4 separate regions of the Homo sapiens genome follow, and regions 1, 3 and 4 are each linked to region 2. Evidence: promoter capture Hi-C in 16 types of primary human blood cells and fetal thymus (Javierre and others, 2016). All regions are on one chromosome and are shown on one strand. The core of a region is centred on a gene start or on the middle of the fragment in contact, and the rest is flanking DNA. Distances in the headings are between cores, read along the strand shown. Region 1 holds the start of ARID4A (AT-rich interaction domain 4A). Region 2 holds the start of KTN1-AS1 (KTN1 antisense RNA 1). Region 3 overlaps ACTR10 (actin related protein 10). Region 4 holds the start of PSMA3 (proteasome 20S subunit alpha 3).

What was found. Contacts are between HindIII fragments. The CHiCAGO score rates a contact against its expected background, and 5 or more counts as called.
Region 1: a contact is called between the fragment with the promoter of ARID4A here and the fragment with the promoter of KTN1-AS1 in region 2, in 3 of 17 cell types (fetal thymus, non-activated CD4 T cells and total CD8 T cells). The highest score is 9.7, in fetal thymus.
Region 3: a contact is called between a fragment that was not itself captured here and the fragment with the promoter of KTN1-AS1 in region 2, in 1 of 17 cell types (naive B cells). The highest score is 5.9, in naive B cells.
Region 4: the fragment with the promoter of PSMA3 here is called in contact with the fragment with the promoter of KTN1-AS1 in region 2 in 1 of 17 cell types (total B cells); the score reaches 5.6 in total B cells.

Annotation. Positions count from the first base shown.
Region 1 is chr14:58,295,398-58,299,931 of GRCh38, reverse strand. ARID4A (AT-rich interaction domain 4A) reads right to left here and starts at 1,377. Exons shown (of 24, transcript NM_002892.4): 1 at 1,232-1,377; 2 at 72-134. The coding sequence starts at 77. It overlaps PSMA3-AS1 (PSMA3 antisense RNA 1), which reads left to right and starts at 1,795. Exons shown (of 4, transcript NR_029435.1): 1 at 1,795-1,977. RefSeq lists a silencer at 288-807 and enhancers at 1,438-1,527, 1,638-1,687, 1,708-2,127, 1,424-2,147. The HindIII fragment of the contact is 5,118 bases long and covers 1,142-4,534 here.
Region 2 is chr14:55,578,194-55,583,291 of GRCh38, reverse strand. It overlaps KTN1-AS1 (KTN1 antisense RNA 1), which reads left to right and starts at 3,200. Exons shown (of 3, transcript NR_027123.1): 1 at 3,200-3,356; 2 at 4,555-4,686. It overlaps KTN1 (kinectin 1), which reads right to left and starts at 3,085. Exons shown (of 44, transcript NM_001079521.2): 1 at 2,938-3,085. RefSeq lists silencers at 1,767-2,061, 2,241-2,880, 2,941-3,200 and enhancers at 3,641-3,730, 3,741-3,860. The HindIII fragment of the contact is 5,026 bases long and covers 1-5,020 here.
Region 3 is chr14:58,200,229-58,204,633 of GRCh38, reverse strand. ACTR10 (actin related protein 10) reads right to left here. Exons shown (of 13, transcript NM_018477.3): 1 at 4,340-4,405; 2 at 1,707-1,779. Among named protein-coding and RNA genes, the nearest start is that of ACTR10, 2.3 kb to the right of the region's middle. RefSeq lists an enhancer at 4,103-4,292. The HindIII fragment of the contact is 1,894 bases long and covers 684-2,577 here.
Region 4 is chr14:58,241,806-58,246,832 of GRCh38, reverse strand. PSMA3 (proteasome 20S subunit alpha 3) reads right to left here and starts at 1,990. Exons shown (of 11, transcript NM_002788.4): 1 at 1,892-1,990. The coding sequence starts at 1,912. RefSeq lists enhancers at 1,517-1,966, 1,081-1,978, 2,147-2,346, 2,387-2,436. The HindIII fragment of the contact is 17,362 bases long and covers 1,692-5,027 here.

The DNA of each region.
Region 1 (4,534 bases), core at 128-2,627, 2.7 Mb before region 2:
TTCCACGGCACTAGCCTTAGGATTGGCAGTGTTCAGGGCGCGAGGATCGGGGCAGAGTTGACTCCACTTACCTTCATTTTTGTTGGTGATCTGTGGGGTTCCAGCTCAGCGAGCTATCTTCGCAGTCGCTAGAACTATGGGGAGGGGGAAAGACAGGCACAGACATAATCAGTCAACTGCGGGGAGCGACCAAGGGAAAGAAAGTAAACAAACGCCAGCGGGGAGGGGCAGAATCCTCACCAGCCAAGGGACAAGACCCCTTACGAGGGCAGCCAGGACGCAGGAGCTGAGGGGGCAGCGAGAACCCCACGAGCGCCAAAGGGCAGCCCGTTCCGCCCCGGAGCTCGCCAGCGGCCCACCGCGCCCCCGCCTCGCTGGCCACTTTGACCCGGAATGCTCAACTCGGAGCTCCAGGACAGATAGCTCCGGAAAAGGCCAGAGCTCCCTTCGGGCTTCCCCAGGTCCCCCGCGGAGACGACCGCCGAGCCTCCGCTCCGCGGTCCCCCGGATACCCCGACTTCGGCCCGCGCCCCGCCTCCGCCGCTCGGCCCCCTCGGCCCGCCCCGGGCCCGCGGTGGCGGCAGCGGAGTGTCACGGCGCCATTGCTCTCCTTCCTTCGCTCTGCACCATGTCAGAAAGGAGAAGCGCTCCTTCACCCAAAGGGGCAGGGGCCGCGGCCTTCAGCCGGGAGCCGCCAGAGCCCCGGGGGACCCGCGTGGGGGAGGGGGCGGGGGGCGGAGGGGAGGAGGAGGGGAGGTGGCCCGGACAGGGTGTGGGAGGGGAGGGGAGCCGCACCGCAGCAGCCGCTGCCTCCTCCCAGCGCCCGCCTCAACTTTTTGTACAGCCCAGAGAGGTATCAGCTCGTAGCCCCTCGAGTCCTGCCACGGACTCCGCAGAGGTGGACGCGCCGCGGAGTTGGGGGACGGCTCCCCCAAGCAGCCCGCTCTTCACCGCGCGGAAGCAAACTTAGCGGCGCGGCCAGCCCCACAGCCATTTTCCCGGGAACCCGAGGAAGCGGACGAGGAGGCGGCTGCAACTGCGGCGGCGGTTCCTGCAGTTGCTGCCGCTGGTCAATGGCTGGCCCCTTCCCTTGCGCTCGCCGTGCCACTTGCCTAGCATCCCTCTCCCCACCTCCAAAGCTTCCAACTGCACCGGGACCTCGGGCAGCAGCAGCTGCTGCTACTGCCACTTCGTCCATTCAGTATCCCCGGATTCCCCTCTCCCCACCTACCAACTGCGGGTGAAGTGCGCGCTGTCAGCTCCAGAGTCCTCCTCCCCTCTGACCTCCGTGGGCCCCCGTCCGGGCAGCACCACTCCCAGCCGCGGCTGCAGTTCCTGCGCCGGGTTCCCCACTCGCCCCGATTTACTGCCACAATCCACCAAATAACAAGCTGTTGAGCAGACTCGCTTCTACACGAACTCCTATTGGCTGCTCATGACGCCGAAGAGCTTCGGATAGGACCTCGCTACCTGCCGTCCTCATTGGATGTAGCTGTGAAACTTCATGGATTGGTGAGAAAAACAGCAGGTAGGACATCTTCCACTTATGATTGGCTTTTTCCGAAAACCAACTTTATTGGAGAGTTGGTTATTGAGTAAGCAAGTCCTGAGAAATGATTGGTAGAGACGACTCCGGATGTGCTTGACTGGGCACTGATTGGTGAATTGAGGGGTCAGGAAGAGCAGTTCGACACGAGGATTGGCGGCGGAGTGTCCCATGGAAACGGAACCCAGAATTGCAGCCAGGGGCTTGCACGGGGGCGGGGCAGGGTCTGTCCAAGGCGCTTGCGCTAAACCAGCTTGTCGGCGCCATTTTGTCTCGGCAGCGGTGGCCGTAGCTCCATCGCATTTTATGTTTCTGGCGAGAAGGGAACGGAGTTTTCATCAGGTAGATTGGTTTTTGTGCGGCCGTCCTCCACCGTTTCCTCCAGGACAGCACCTAGTCGTGGCCGGAGGAGTCTCAGAGCTGTCAGAAAGGTCAGTTGGAGGCTATGGTTGTCCGATTGACTGGGGGGATGGCGCAGCCCTAGCGGCACCGGCACCGGAAGTGAAGGGGCCGCAGGCAGCCATGGTAAACTTCTCCCTGCGGCGGGGTGGGGAGAAGGGGCGGGATGAATGGGGGCGAGGCTTCCTCTCCCGCCGAGATAAAGAGGTGGAGGAGAGGCAAACGTCTTTCTTGGAGGTTCTCTTTCGGGTTTTCGAGAATGTGAGAGATTTTCTGGGTTCTGTCCCACTGCAATCTTTCCTGTCTTTGGAAGTGCATTTCGGGGACTTGCCATGTTCTCCACCTGATTGGCACCAGCTGTGGGAGCCTTCTTAGTTAAGACAGGGAAGAAGTGGTTCTTAGAAACATCCTGCATGGGTAGAGGTTTCCGCGTGCTCCTCACGGGATAAAGCTATGAGGAAACTGGAGAAAGCGCTGGCTTTCTGGATGCTGAGGAATTTACTTGCCAGCGCAGACGCTTCTTCTGTGACCTTAGACAAGGGTCTGTCACTCTGCACGAGGCTTATGCTACTTTTTGAAAGCAAACAGTGGTTTTGCAGGGACTGAAAACATCTTAGACAAAAGGACGTCCCCGATAAGATAGACGTTGATCTTTTTCTGTTAACATCTTATATTCTGTTAAACGAAACACACATTTTTAAATAGCGGAATTGGAGTATAAAATTGACTAGTTTTATAGAATGGAGTAATTTTTAAAATGTGACATATCGTCAGTAATCCACGTGGACTAAATTTTCTCAGTAAGAAAACAGCCGAGCAGAATCAGTTTTTTATTCGTAACAGTAATTTTGCTCAAAAGTATTCATAAAAACGTGAAATGCATGTTGGCATTTCTAGTGAGTGACCTAGTCACACTGGATAGATCCTAATAGTTACCCTCAATACCTCTGTTTTAAACCCTACTGCTATATTGGTGGCGCCCATAACTAGAAAATGATTGTGTGACTTAACAATTACTGGGTTTTTTGGCAGTTGTGCTGAAGAAAACAGAACATCTCAGTGATTACTGAGGTGAGTCATAAAGTCTAAAAATCCTTAGAATTGCGGGGGACTACCTGGAAAAACTTTCTATGGATTAGTAAAGAAATACCAGAATGGGAGGAAGGGTAGTTAAAAGATGTTTTGTTTGGTCAGATTCAAATGAGTCTGTATAATTAGCTTTCTAGTGTAATATTTTAGAATGAAATCCCAAAATTAGGACATCCTTATGGACTTGTTTACCCATTTACGTGGTTCTCATTTCTGGACTTTGATATACCTCATGTTTTTGTTATAAAACATTATGCGTATTTTTGTGATTTCCTCCCCCCCACCCGCCTATTTAAAAAGTTCTTATATAGAAAAGATCTTGTAAATGGGAGTGTTTAGGAGTGAGGCTTTTTTTTTTTTTTTTTTTTTTTTTTTGGAGACAGAGTCTCTCTCTGTCATCGAGGCTGGAGTGCAGTGGCGCAATCTCGTAGGAGTGAAGCAGTTTTTTAAAAGACCTTATAAAACAATATATTACTGAATTTTCTAGGGGGTAAGCATCCATAATTCTACGATCAAAGTTTAAACTGTTATTATTGAATCCAAATAATGCATGGACATTTGGAAATTATTAAAAAGCCCAAAGAAGAATACAAAAATGTCTTCCCTCCTCCAAAAGGTAGTTACGGTTTACACTATAGTTATATATTATACAAAAGGCTTTGTCTTTTTTGTTGGTTTTGTTTTACCAAATATTCTAGTGTTGTTCATTACCGTCTATTCTTTATAGAAAACATTGGGAATATTGGAAATATCTTATCGTAAAGCATCTTTTATGTCTTCATAGTGTTTTGTGGGATAAATATATCATAATTTATGTAACGTGTTTATTTTTCTATAATGGCAGTAATATGTCAGTGAATATCCTTGTACATGTTTTGCAAAATATTGTGTCTAAGAAGGTCGTTGCAAAAGTAATCGTGGTTTTTGCATTATTGGAATTTGCCATTTGATGTTGGACTACGTTGTTAAATAAATGTGGTTATGTTATACATCATTTTAATGGGCATTTCTCGCTTTGTTCTTTTGGTAATGACTTATTACTCTCTGTTTATTTCATGTTTATTTTATTTTATTTTTGAGACAGAGTCACGCTCTGTCGCCAGGCTGAAGTCAGTGGCACCATCTCGGCTCACTACAACCTCTGCCTCCCAGGTTCAAGCAATTCTTCTGCCTCAGCCTCCCGAGTAGCTGGGACTACAGGCGCGTGCCACCACACCAGCTAATTTTTTGTATTTTTAATAGAGCCAAGGGGCTTCACCATGTTAGCCATGGTGGTCTCGATCTCCTGACCTCATGATCTGCCTGCCTCGGCCTCGTAAAGTGGTGGGATTACGGGCATGAGCCACGTGCCCAGCCTTCATGTGTATTTTAGACAATGAAAATGATGTTAGACAAAAAAGCAAATTCGAGCAGTTTTCGTTTTTGAGTTAAAAATGGGTTGTAAAACAACAGAGACACCATATCAGCAATGCATATGGTTCAGGAACTGTTAACTTACAG
Region 2 (5,098 bases), core at 1,951-4,450:
ATTTTTTAAAAAAGAAAAATAGCCTAGTTTTCACTGCCACCTCTGTCAAAAACACATTTAAGCACAACAGCTCGGCACACAGTTGTAAACTGTCATTATTTCTCTTTCTCTAGACCTCAGATACAGAAGGTTAAATTAAACCCCTTAGTTCACAGCACATAAGGTTCTTCCCCTTAATGTTTAATTTTCTATTTATAGAGGAGGGAAAAAGGCTTATATTCTCATCTAGACCAATATTTTCCCAGTGATTTGAAAATAAATTACATTTTTTGATTGGGACAAAGTCATGTTCACAGGAACTGAAAGAGGAAGCAATGAAATGCAATTCTCTTTGAGCATGAGTGATCACCAATGTCACTTCTAGAGAAATAGTTACTTGCTTGTATCCTCTAAGTATACTCTGGATTTACCTTCAAAGTCACTAAAAACAGTACAGAGAACAAGCAGGTCATAAGGTGTATTCTCAAATATATGAACGATCTTGCAAAGCACGATTTTTCTCATTTCCTTATTACATATTAGGTCAGATTCCCAAGAGAACCAAAACCTTCCTAGAACCACTTAAGTTCATTAACAATTTAATATTTTAACAAAGTATTGGAGATCTTTCAGGTTAAAACTTCATTTGCTATAAAAATTATAGGCATACAATTAAAAACACATGTTCCATTCAAGTTAAGAAATTAACTTACACATAGGAAATGTATAAGACACATTCAACTTTTAAAAAAACAATTATGATTCAGTATTCTACGTGTCATCTTAACCATGACAGGCTGATTAAGAACTTTTAACCATAACTTAACATTCAAGTTAAGAACTTAAGAACAGTGACAATCTTAATATGGGTTCTTTAGAAGTCTCAAAAAGGTTTTCACGTCTTAGGCTCTTTTAAAAAGCCATATTGACTGATATTAAAAATATAATTATTAAAACGATCTCCCTACCAAAAGCAGATTAAAGCCTATAAACTAGAAGGGAGACTGAAGTGAGGCATTTTTAGGGACAAACACAACATCAAACAGAAGAGACTACTGGTATTAAAAGAATACAGAAAGATCTAAATTGGAAACAAAATCGTAAATGTCTCTTCATAATGCTGACGCTGAATCATTAAGAGTTAAATACTTGATATTCTTTATAATTTTCAAGTATTAAGAAAATTTTTCAATAGATCTTGTTATATTTTCAAATTCATTATCAGCCTCAAGTAAATCAAGTAGAACACCTTATTCTCTAAGCTCACTTGATAAGGTATTGTTATGTCTGATGAAGGCTACAAAATTAGAAGAGACATTTGAAACTCAATGTTGGGGTGGGAGGGAAACTCATGAACAGACCCAGCTATTTCAGGTTAGATCCTTAAACTAAAAAAAAAGGAAAAAGGAAAAAAAAAAAGAGCCTTTTTTATCAGGCAGCACATCAAATATGAAAGTCTACTGCAAGGCATGTCTACCCAAAATACTCAAGAGTAATTTAGTGTTATTCTTGGGATCATTATCCCAAGTCTCACCAGCTTGGGATCATTATCCCAAGTCTCACCAGCAATTGCTTCGGACCAAACTGGAGACACTGTTGCCATTAGCCTGCTAGGTAAGCTAAGGAAAACAAATGCAACCTAATTTAGCAAAAATTCTAACTTTAAGTCAACTCCTATACAATTCAGAACCTTTAGTTCACCGAAGATGCTTATCTTTAGCTGGGCTGGCCATGAGTGTCTACATTTCTCAAGGCTTTCCACAAAGTCATCACACACACACACACCTTAACAGTTAACTTCAACCGTAGCTCTTTACTCAAGGCTTTCCACAAAGTCATCACACACACACACTCACACACACACACACACCTTAACAGTTAACTTCAACCGTAGCTCTTTAAGCACTACTAACTTAAATAGCGGCTAAGGAATCCGTTTGCCAACACAGTTCTGAATTTAGATTCCTCCTTCCTCCCACAGGAAAGAAGGGCCAACACTGAACAGCTTACTTTCAACCTAACCTAGTCAAGGTGCAACTGGGGCCGGCTGGGACGCCGCTGCCCGCGTCCGGGGCTGCCCACATCTAGTGCACCCAGCGCCTTCACCGCCAGCATGCGGGGCTGCACATCCCACACCAGACGTATGGCTGAGAGCCAGACGACTTCTCTAGACTTCCCGCGTAGTTTTCCGGCGAGGTCCCCAAGGCCAAAAATCTCACTTTTGGAAACTGAAGGGGTCAGGCCGAATCGCTAGGACACACCCCTCGGGGACAGGAAGGGATAACTTCGCCGGTGTCGAGAGTGGTCCATGGATTTTTCCAAAGTCCCCCCTCATGCTGCTTTCCGTGCCCAACCGCCTCCCGCCCTGACCTGGGGACTCGCAAAGGGCAGCGGGAGGGGCGCCGGGGAAGGGGGCGAGCGCCCAGACCGCCGGAGGCAGCGGCGAGGACTGGAACTCCAGCATGGCGTAAGTGTGGCCCAGCTCCGGCCCGGGGACGCCGCCGGAGACGCGCTGCCTCCGTCCACCGGCCGAGGAGGCGGTAATCCGCCTTCCCTCCCGGGGGCCCTCAGGCTTGGCTAAAAATAGGTGCCTCGGTCACCCCAGGGCCCGCTCGGGTCGACCTCGCCTTCGGGAGAGTCGTCCTTGGGGAGGGTGGGGGGTGTCCCTCGGCCGCGCCCCGGGTGCCGCGACAGAGCCGGGGTCGGGCCCAGAGCGGCCCCGCGAGGCCGAGGAGGTCCCTCCGAGCCCGCCCCCTGCGGCGTCCCGGCCCCAACAAGAGCCCCGCGGCGGCAACCGGATGCCCGAGGCCTACCCAGCGGGCGGCGTCCGGGCCCCGCGGCCGCGCCCCCCCGCCCGGCGCGGCCCTCCCGCCTGCCCCAGGACCCCGCGGCCGGCGCCGCCTCCCCCCGCGCTCCCCGCCGCCGGCGCCCGTCCCGGTGCGGCCTGCTCTCCCTCACCCTGTGCGGCCGGGAAAGGAGACCGGGAAGACGCGGCGGCGCCGGCACTACAGCCCGGGCCGCCCGCTCCGAGGCGCCGCCGCCGCCGCCGCCGCCGCCGCAGTCGCTCAGGTGCCGTCGCGCCGCTCGGCAGGAAACGGGCGGCTTCGGGGCGGGGCGGGGCGGACCCGGCACGTCCTGGCGTCTGGGCCGGCGGCGCCGGGAGACCGGCCCCTTAAAGGGACAGCCGCCGGCCCGCCTCTGCCTCCGCGCGCCTGCCCACGCGCTCCGGTACTCGCTGCTCGCGGCTGGCCGGCTCGGGATTCCGGGCTTTCTTCCCGAGACCGCGTCCCCCAGCTGGGCCGAAGGTGGACGCTCAGGGGCTGGAGGCTCAGCGGAATCCCCTGCGTTCAGTAGCCCCGCTCTCCCCTGTCCCGAAGGTTGGTCTCGTCTCGCGCGGCCCTCCCTCCAGGGCACCACCTGGCTCCCCACGCCTTTTAACTTCAGCAAACGGCACTAGATTTACCCCCTGACTATCCCAGATTTCCCCCAGAAATTACTGGAAAACGACATCCCCCGTCCCTTTCTCCAGGGGATCTCTCTGAAATCTCCTTCGGGCAACGCTAGCTACAAACGGAGAAAGAAATTAGAAAGCGACCCAAATAATGGTCGGGCGCGGTGGTTCACGCCTGTAACCCCAGTACTTTGGGAGGCCAAGGCAGGCGGATCACCTGAGGTCAGGAGTTCGAGACCAGCCTGGCCAACATATAGTAAAACCCGTCTCTGCCAAAAAAAGTACAAAAAATTAGCTGGGCATAGTGGCGCACGCCTGTAGCCCCAGCTACTTGGGAAGCTGAGACAGGAGAATCGCAGGAATCTAGGAGGCGGAGGTTGCAGTGAGCCGAGATCTCGCCACTGCACTCCAGCCTGGGCGAGAGAGTAAGACTCTCCGTTTCTCTCAAAAAAAAAAAAAAAAAAAGGAAAGAAAAGAAAGCGACCCAAATGAGTTGTGTGCAAACATTATGAAAGTGTTGTGACTGCCAGCTGGTAGCCATTTATGAAGCCGGGGTAAAAATCTAGAAACTGCTGCGCGAGGAGGGATGGGCCCGGATCTCTCCTTATTCGTTTGCTCTTTGCTGAAAGGATGGCAGCGATCCTCCCCGTCCACTGGCAAGTGAGTTTCGTGTGGATTGTTTACCGATGATCAATCTCTCACAGGAGGCCAGGCACTGCCCCACTACATGTACAAAACACTCCAAGCTGTCCGCAAATGTTATGAAGGCTTAAAATAATCCTAACGATTCCAGACTGTGGATAGAGATAGAAAAAATTAGGACTCACCACCACCACCTCGCCCTACATCTGACAAAGTGGGAACAGAAGCAGTTAAGGAATGAACAGCAGAACCGTTTCTACACCAACAGAATTTCCTGTACATGGGCTGGTTAAAAGTATCCATACTTTTTATTCTAATCATTTCTAAGTTTTCTAGAGCACCTCCAAAATACAAATGAAAACTGCGCAGTGTATAGTGGCCTGAGATATTGAGAATTCTGCCAGTCTTCAGTCACCGTGTTCTCCACAGATGCATTGTCTTATTTTAACTCCAGAGGCGTCCTCTTTTTTCTTTCTCATTAGGATTACTCTGCCCCTCAGCGGTTCCAGTGCCCTCAAAGCAATCTGTCTCTGAAGTACTGGCTATCTTCTGAGCGTGTGCCAGAAGATCCAGCTTTGTTGAAAAGCGAAGCCGTTAGTCCCTTAATACAAAGGGTAAGTGTATCATTTATGTAATGGAGTTTAAGGGCTCTTGATTAGCTTACAAACAACCATGTTATTTCCTCAGGTTAGTACTAACGCAGGTTTTAGGTTAGAATTAAAAATTTATATCATTCATTTTCCTGACCAGTAAAACCGCAATGTCATTTACAGGCAATAATATTTCGGTGCACTTGTAAGTAAGACAATGAGTGGAGTTTAGGATTTTCTCAAAACATACTACTGCTTATACTAAAGGATGACTTTGTATCACCTATTTCGGCTTTTCTGGCGTTTGAACTTTGACTATAGAAAGGGAAGTGGTTGAATGCTTTATTTTTTATAAGCTTTCTATTTATTCACATCAAAACAAAAAGATTTACTAGAGGCCGGGCGCAGTGGCTGACACCTGTAATCCCAGCACTTT
Region 3 (4,405 bases), core at 381-2,880, 2.6 Mb before region 2:
GAGCTTGCTACCATCTGCACTGACTCAGAACCCACTGGCTAACATTTTCAATCCATGACTTTTATTTTTATTTGTTTATTTTTGAGACAGGGTCTCACTCTGTCGCCCATGGTGGAATGCAGTGGTGCAATCTTGGCTCACTGCAGCCTCAACCTCCTGGGCTCAAGTGATCCTCCCACTTCGGCCTCCCAAGTAGCTGGGGACTACAGGTGCGCACCACCTCCACGATTTTATTTTATTTTATTTTTTTGAGATGGAGTCTCGCTCTGTCGCCCAGGCTGGAGTGCAGTGGCGCAATCTCGGCTCACTGCAAGCTTCGCCTCCCGAGTTCACGCCATTCTCCTGCCTCAGCCTCCCAAGTAGCTGGGAATACCAGTGCCTGCCACCATGCCTGGCTAATTTTTTTTTTTTTTTTTAGTAGAGATGGGTTTTCACTGTGTTAGCCAGGATGGTCTCGATCTCCTGACCTCGTGATCTGCCCGCCTCGGCCTCCCAAAGTGCTGCGATTACAGGCGTGTAATCTGCCCAGCCCACAATTTTATTTTTAATATTCCCTAAGACAGCCTCCAGCCACACTCAGCTGCCTGCCAATCCTATTTAAATTTTGTGGAGGCATCAATTATTGTTTTTGCTAGTCCTCTGATTACAAAGTTACACAGGTTTTATATGGACTACCTCAAGCTTATTTTTCCCATAAGCCTGTTTTGTTTTGTTTTTTAAAAATGTACCATTTTGCAGAACAAAGGTATTTTCTGGAATGCATATATAATGTTACTGTGGTAACAGCTACATCTCATTTTTTAACAAGTGAATTTTATAACATGCAAAATCATTCTTTCTACTGGTTGTAATTTCTAATCTGCCAAATTAGCTGTGGCAAGAAACTTTTTGAAAGTTTGTTTTCAAAATTCTCTGGGTTTTGAAACTGTAAATAAGGGAATAAATATCTGATATATTATAAATAATAAAATAATTCAGTGGTTATAAGACTTATAAAAGTATTTTACTGAAGTTAAAATTTTTCTCTTGATATATGATTCCATTTACATAAAATGTACAGAAAAGACAAATCTATAGAAACAGAAGGTACACCCTAATGGGCTGAGGATAGGAATGAGGATTAATTGTAAACGGGTATTAGGGATTTTACTGGGGTGATGAAAACATTCTAAAACTGGATTGTGGTGGTACTTGTACAACATGATATACTTATGGTGTGCAAAATTAGACCTTGATAAAGTTGATTTAAAAAGAAAAACTTTTCCTTGGAAATATAGCCACAAAGTATATATTTAGTACTGTTTCTTGTTTCTTTTTTTTTTTTTTTTTTTGAGACGAAGTCTTGCTCTTGCCCCCCAGGCTGGAGTGCGATGGCTTGATTTTGGCTCACTGCAACCTCCGCCTCCCGGGTTCAAGCAATTCTCCTGCCTCGGCCCCCTGAGGAGCTGGGATTAGAGGTGCCTGCCACCACTCCCGGCTAATTTTTGTATTTTTAGTTGAGACAGGGTTTCACCATGTTGTCCAGGCTGGTCTCAAACTCCTGATCTCAGGTGATCCACCCGCCTCAGCCACCCAAAGTGTTGGGATTACAGGCGTGAGCCACCACGGCTGGCCTTTAGTACTGTTTTAATCAATCTTACTTGAAGTCATATTTTAAAACATTTTATAGTATGGCATTTATTTTGCTAATATTTTTTTTTAAATACCTTAGGCATCCCAGCTCTTTTTATCACACTAGGAATTATACATCTTGGACCAGTTTCTCCAGCAAATCCACACCTGCAAATAAATGGAAAATTGAAACAACTTATAGTATTCTTTTAAATATTTGTCACAGAAACTAATTTTCTCTGTATTTGTTTCAAAACAATGGCCACAATAACATTTGAAAATACCTGATGTATTTTAAGGGATCAAAAAAAATCACTCCACAAAACTAATAATACTATTTATTAATGCTTGTGTATTAACAGAAAAAAATTCTATGAAATTCGTGATGCTGAAAAAAACAAATGTATTATTTTAGGGCAGCATTTACTTTTTTTTTTTTGAGATGGAGTCTGGCTCTGTCACCCAGGCTGGAGTGCAGTGGCGCGATCTCGGCTCACTGCAAGCTCCGCCTCCCGGGTTCACGCCATTCTCCTGCCTCAGGCTCCTGAGTAGCTGGGACTACAGGTGCCGGCCACCACGCAGGGCTAATTTTTTTTTTTTTTTTTAGTAGAGACGAGGTTTCACCGTGTTAGCCAGGATAGTCTCGATCTCCTGACCTCGTGACCCGCCCGCGTCGGCCTCCCAAAGTGCTGGTATTACAGGCGTGGGCCACCGCGCCTGGCCAACTTTTTTCCTAGTTGTTAATTTTAGCAGAATTTAGGCAAGACATATCTACAACTCTGAATCTGTACTACATTATGTGACTTCATTCATATAATTCATCTGTATCACTCATAATTCCATCATTCTAATATTGTTAGCTTCCATATTGGTGTATTCACTTTCAGTCTACTTCTTATGATTATGCATATATATTTGACATAGTTTTAATCACACTTCATACATAATTAACTCATACAGTAAGCTTCTGCCCATATTAACATAATCTTCATTGCTATCACTTTTTTTTTTTTTTTTTTTGAGGCAGGGTCTCGCTCTGTCGCCCAGGCTGGAGTGCAGTGGCACAAACTCAGATCACTGCAGCCTCCGCTTCCCAGGCTCAAGCGATCCTCCCCCCTTGGCCTCCCAAAGTGCTAGGATTTCGGGCACGACACTACCGCCGGCTAAATTTTGTATTTTGTGTAGAGCTGGGTTTCCCCATGTTGCCCAGGCTGGTCTTGAACTACTGGGCTCAAGTGGTCAGCCCGCCTCAGCTTTCCAAACTGCTGGAATTACAGTATTATTTTTAAAACCACATATTTCATTATTTTAAAAACGATGCTCTTTTCTTGAGTATTTAGGTATTTCCATTTTTGTTTCATGTTAGTAAAACAAAAATTTGCTAAAAACGTTGCTAAAAATGATCATCATACTAGTTTAGTCTTAACATCCTGTCTTCTTGTCCTGTCTAGTTTTTGATACTGCTCTCCTCGTATTCCCAAATAATTCTCTCCATCTCCTCCTATTCCCGTCTCCATGTTTACTTGCATCAGTGCTCCTCAAACATCTCAGAATGCAAGCCATTAGACTTCAATTCCTTTTTTTTACTTCATACATTTATCTTATCATCCTCCTGCTGTCTTTTTCAAATATAGCTTTTTGCTTATTTCTTCCAAGTACAGCCAAAATAATTATCTTTGACTAGAAGCCTCGAACTGTTTATTACGCTTTCAAAATAATTTTAATAAGAAAATATAAATAAGGAAGGGCCTCGCATAGAACAATAAGAGAATGTCATTAACCAAGGACTATGTTTAATCCAATTCTGGAGTTCCTGGGGTCCAATTTTTAAATAGGCTCTTTTAACCACTTAGTCAATAAATAGTTATTAAATACCTACTACACGTCAGGAAGTGCCTAGAGATATAAAAAGATTTTTCAAATGTTTCATTTTCATAAATACATATATGATGTAATTGCCTGTTACTTCCCTCTCTGTTGAGCCCATCACAAGGACTCTTAATCTAGGGTCCCAGGACCACATTGATTGTCTGCCAATTCCCTGAAACTGTGTATAAGTACCTTAAGATTTGTGCATTTGTGGTTTTCATCCAGCCATTAAAGAGATCTATGCCATCCGAAAGGTTGAGAACCTCCTCTCTATTGTTTACAAGTTGGTTTGTTTAAAACATGTCAAATCTAACCTTCGAGTTTAGGGGAGCCAACAAAGGATTTCCAGAATCTTATCTATAGGGTTTCACCTCTTAATGTGCCCAGTCTCCCTAATTCTTGAGCAGCGATAGCCCTGTCTTAAACATCTTTCCATTTTCAGCACCAAAATAAACTCCGTTCAATATTTTATGATGAAATTCGTCATCGAGCATTTACATTCGGTTGGCTGCCTTCCTCAACTGAGGAGCCCAGGGTAAGCGGGGTCTAGGTCACGGTTGTCATCCCCTACACAGATGATCCCAAAGGGTTTGTTGGGTTTGGGGTGATGACAAGGGGCGGCGACGAGGGCAATTCAACAGAAGCTTTCTGGGCCTCTCTGGGAGTCAGACCCCGATCCTCGGATTCGCATCGCCCAGGGAGGAAATAATAAGAGCTGTTATTTGCAAGGGCGCTGGTTGAAGAAAAGGGGAGGCCCGGAGCTGCCCAGCGAGTCGGCGATGAGGACCCAGGCAGTGCCTGGGGCTCTGCCACCCGCCCTCCCCTCGGGTCGAACACAGCTGGCGTCACGGCCACTCACTTGGTAAAGGCCTCTCCCAGGTCGATCACGACCGCCGTCTTCTCCCCGCCGCTCCCCAGGCCCTCG
Region 4 (5,027 bases), core at 741-3,240, 2.7 Mb before region 2:
AGCTGTAGAGAGAACAACAGAAGCAAAGATAAGGTGTTCCAAAGATAGCGGTAGTAGCTTAGACGAGAGAAGAGGTAGAAGGGAATATTTTTTGAGAGTAGAGTAAAATATAAAAATAATAAAAATAAACTTGCTAGGCCAGGCGTGATGGCTCATGCCTGTAATCCCAGCACTTTGGGAGGGTGAGGCGGGCTGATCACAAGGTCAAGAGATGGAGACCATCCTGGCCAACATGGTGAAACCTCATCTCTACGAAAAATACAAAAATTAGCTGGGCGTGGTGGTGCGCACCTGTAGTCCCAGCTCTTCGGGAGGCTGAGACAGGAGAATTGCTTGAACCTGGGAGGCACAGGTTGCAGTGAGCCAAGATCGTGCCACTGCACTCCAGCCTGGCAACAGAGCAAGACTCCGTCTCAAACAAAATAAAAATAAAAAAATAAACTTGCTAAAGCGTTGGTTCTGGGAGTAAAGTAAAAAAAGGAATTAAAGATGAATAACAGATTTTTTCATATGACCATTCACTGAGCTGAAGACTGTAGTAGATGCAAAATGGCAAGGTGAGGAGAAAACCCAGAGCTCTACTTTCACATGCAGTACGAAATGACTATTAAACGATCAAGTGAACAGACATGTCAAGCAGACAAACAAATATTCGTATCTGGAGTTCTTGGGAGAAATGAAGACAGAAGAAAAGCCTTCAGCAGTGGTACTTTCTGAGTCTGTTTCCTGATCTGTTAAACCCAGATCATTAACCCTACCATTGTTACTAAAATATCCCACATGGTTACATTATCAAGTATTCTTTAAAAGGTTTGTAGAATGAAATACTATTAATTCAAGGTAATATTAATATAATTGCAAAGTCAGTTTGCTACAAGATTTAATATTGAGCATTTACTTATCCAAGAAAAGTATGGCAGAACTTTAGCATTCATAACTGAATGGATTAAACCATTCCAGACATAAGTTGCCTATTATCAAATTTAGAACACCGGTACTTGAACTTAAGGCTGAGCATGAGAATCTTGTTAAGAAGTAGAAATTGAGGAACTGAGAAACTCATTATTCAATAACTCTAGTGCAAATAACCAATAAATCTTTTAGAAACTGTATTTTCTATATAGAGAAGTACATAAAAGGAGTAAACTGACTGCACATATGCAATACGTTTAACAAAGGAAAGCCAAACAAGTTAACAAGTCCCACTGCAAAATCCTCAACAGTCTATGAAAAGTCTGAAGCTGTTAAGTTCCTAAGTAACCATTTAAACGTTTACGGAATAAATGCCTACAAGCGCTGTTAGGTAATTTGTATAGGAAAAACGAGAAAGGAAAAACTGAAGGATTCATCAGATTGTTTTTCAGACCATTTTTATTAGTTCTGTTCCGACAGGATTTCCAGTGACTCTTAAACTGAGCGGTCAATGATCTGCACACTTAAAGACAGAGAAGGCCTGTGAATCAGCAGCACCCTAGGAACTGCAAACGCAGTCCACAAAAAGCACGATCTCCAGACCCCGGAATCCCAAATCTCACTGCCTCGGTGGTTCTCAAGAGAACACACTATTTCAAGCCCCACGAGTTTCCACTTTCGGTTTCCCTAAGTGGCTGAAGAAAGTGACTCAGCAATCCAAAGCGGCTCCAAACCTCACTGCGGCGACGCCAAGCCGGCTACACCTGCGCTGAAAAGCTTCAGGAGTCACGGTCACCTGAGACGCAGGCCTAGCATATAGGGGATAAAGACGACCGGTCTCCAAACAGCTGCAAATGGCCCACCCAGCCGAAGGCGGTCTCAGAGCACCCCGGGTCCGCGAACCCCATGTGGTCTGTCCGAGTTCCCTTCAACCCCAATCCTTAGGTTAAACTATTACACCGACAGACAGCGAACTCACCCCAGTGCCGATTGAGCTCATCGTGCTAAACCCAAAGGGACGCGTAGGGATTCCAGGCCCGGAGCGCTTCCCCTATACCACAGGATGCCGCAAACTAGTAACAGGCCCGCTCATTGGCTGAACTGCCAACCAATAACCTTTTTCTCTGTGGCTCGTTCCGCGGCTCCGGCCCCCAGGACGAGGAGTATTGTGGGAAAAAAGCGGGCCGCGAGAGGCTGGCGGCGCGCATGTGCAGAAGCAATGGAGGCGGGGTTGGGGAAAGCAAAGGCTCCTCCTTCGGTTCGCGTACTTTGAGCCGCTTGGCGTCGTGGTATCTGAGAAGCTGCTCTATTCCTTTCCTTGGAATTATTATTTATCTTTTATATTATTATTCTCTCCTCACTTTATTCTTTCTTTAAGCCAAAGGGAGAGATGCTGGTATACTCTCACAAAAAGTAGAAAAAGCAGTAGGCGCGAAGTAACCTGTCTTCCTCCGCGTCCCGACCCTGACCCAGAATCTTGATGGCATCCACTTCACCTCCTTGTGCTCAGGCTCTCGTGAAGTTTCACTTAAAGGGTATCGTCTTTGAATTCAGCTTAGAATTTTACGGAAGTATTAGTGCTCTTTCTATGAGTATAACGCTTTTTGGTAAGAGTTAAAGATAAGTCTGATTAAAGATATTTTTTGAGCGCTAGTATATTCCACGTGTTCAAGAAAAAGCCGTGAACAGAGCATACCCCCATTTCTAATGTAATTTCCATTCAGTGGGAATAAATAGGTAACAATAAATAAGCAAAATAGTAAGAAGAAAGAGTGCTTTAATAGACAATGGAGGTACTAACTTTAGGCAGTGTGCTCAGGGAATGACTTTCTGAGTGAGTGATATTTAAACTAAAATAGGGTAACAAAAGACAGTGGTTTAGGGAACAGTAAAAAACTTGGCTTGCGCTGGGAACTGTCACGTCAGAGTGACCTCTCATAATGATTAAGTGGGGAAGAATGACAGGAAGAGAACAAGTGCACAGGAGACCAAATCTTGAAGTGGTTTGAATTTTAATCCGATTGTAAATAGGGCATCAGCATTTTTTTTACTCCTAAATATTAATACGTCAGTGTGTATTTTCCCCCAACACAGGAACATTATTTCACAGAGACACAGTATTATTGTGAAAATCAGAAAATTACCAATACTATGATCTATCAACTTTATGCATTTTTTTTTTTTTTTTGGTAAATGGCCCAATAATGTCCTTCATAGCAAAAGAAAATCCAAGATCACACCTTGCATTCAGTTGTCATGTTTCCAATCTGCTTTAGTCTGGAAAATAGTTGCTTAGTATTTCTTCAGTTTTCATGGCATGAACACTTTTGAAGAATACAAACCATTTATTTTGTAGAATATTCCTTAATTTAGGTTTGATTTTTTTGTTATTTGATTCAAGTGATGCATTTATGGCAGGAATACTACAGAAATGACCTTGTATTCATTCATGTCAGAGCATTACATTAGAAGGGACATGATGTTAGTTGTTTTATTGCTGGTAATGTTAACTTTGATCACTTGCTGAAGATTTATCCCTGATAATGTTTCATTTTTCCCTTTGTAATTAGTATCTTGTGAGGAAATACTTTGAGAATATGTACACATCCTGTTTACGCCTCAACATTTCACTCATTAATTCTAATATCTGATGATTCTTATTTGAATTGATTATTACAATGGTTGCCAAATGGTGATTTTCTAATTCCATCATTCTTTTCACATTTATTATTGGTTTTCTACTGTGAGGTTATCAGGAGTTTTTAAAGCAAGAGAATTATATGATTTGATTTAAATCATTAAATGACCTCTTGTTTCTGTGTGAAGAATGATAGCTAAGGGAAAGAAGAGAGGCAGGGATACTAGTTGGAAAGTTATTGCACTTTTGTGAGCTAGCAGTAATGGAGAGTGATTTGGACTAAAGTGGTGGCAGTGGAGGTGGAAATATGTAGATGGATTTCAGATGTGTAGGGAGCTATGGTTTGAATGTCCCCTTCAAAACACGTGTTGAAATTTAATTGCCAATGTAATGGTATTGCGATGTGGGGCCTTTAAGAGGTGATTAGGTCATGAGGGCACTATGGATGAATGACATTTTCAGAATGGGTTAGTTATCTTGGAAGTGGGTTCCTAATAAAGGGGTGAGTTTCACTGGATTTCAGCTTTCTCTGTCTCACATATTCGCTTGCTCTTCTGATCCTCTGTCATGGGATAACACAGCACAATGCCCTTGCCAGATGTCAGTGCCATGCTCTTGGACTTCTAAAACCATGAGCCAAATAAACTTTTCTTGTTTATGAATTACCTAGTCTGTGGTATTCTGTTATAGCAGCAGAATATGGGCTAAGACATAGGGCTTGCAGAATTGGGTATAGAAAGTAAGGGGGAAAAAGGAATTTCAGTTACTTTTGCTTTTTCCTGCTAATGAAGCATTACAATTGATGTTTTTATTCTTGAACAAACCGATAGATAAAAGGACTTGAATGACTTGGAAGACTAGCCACTTAATTTACCTAACCCTCGTTAAAACATTCTAGTTGTAAGTGGTTTTTTTTTTTTTTTTTTGAGACTGAATCTTGCTCTGTCACCCAGGCTGGAGTGCAGTGGCATGATCTCTGCTCACTGCAACCTCTGACCCCCGGGGTTCAAGCGATTCTTCTGCCTCAACTGCCCGCGTAGCTGGGATTACAGGTGTGCACCACCATGCCAGGCTAGTTTTTGTATTTTTAGTAGAGACCGAGTTTCACCATGTTGGCCAGGCTGATCTCACACTCCTGACCTCAGGTGATTCACCCTCCTTGGCCTTCCAAAGTGCTGGGATTACAGGCGTGAGCCACTGCACCTGGCCTCTAGTTGCAGTTCTTTCCTGGGGAGTTCGGATTTAGACCAAGATAGTCCAAGAAAGTGTTGAAGAAAGCTAAAGGTTAATAGTTGCAGAAGGTTTGGCCTTGGAGGTAAACCGTAAGTACTCAAAACTTGTTTAGGTATCAGTTAATCTTTTAATTAACATCATTACTTGTGTGTGATAAACACTATTTGAGTGCCTAGTGCACTCAATATTTATTAATAATTAAGAATTTGGGGGTTCTTTCGGCCGGGCGCGGTGGCTCACGCCT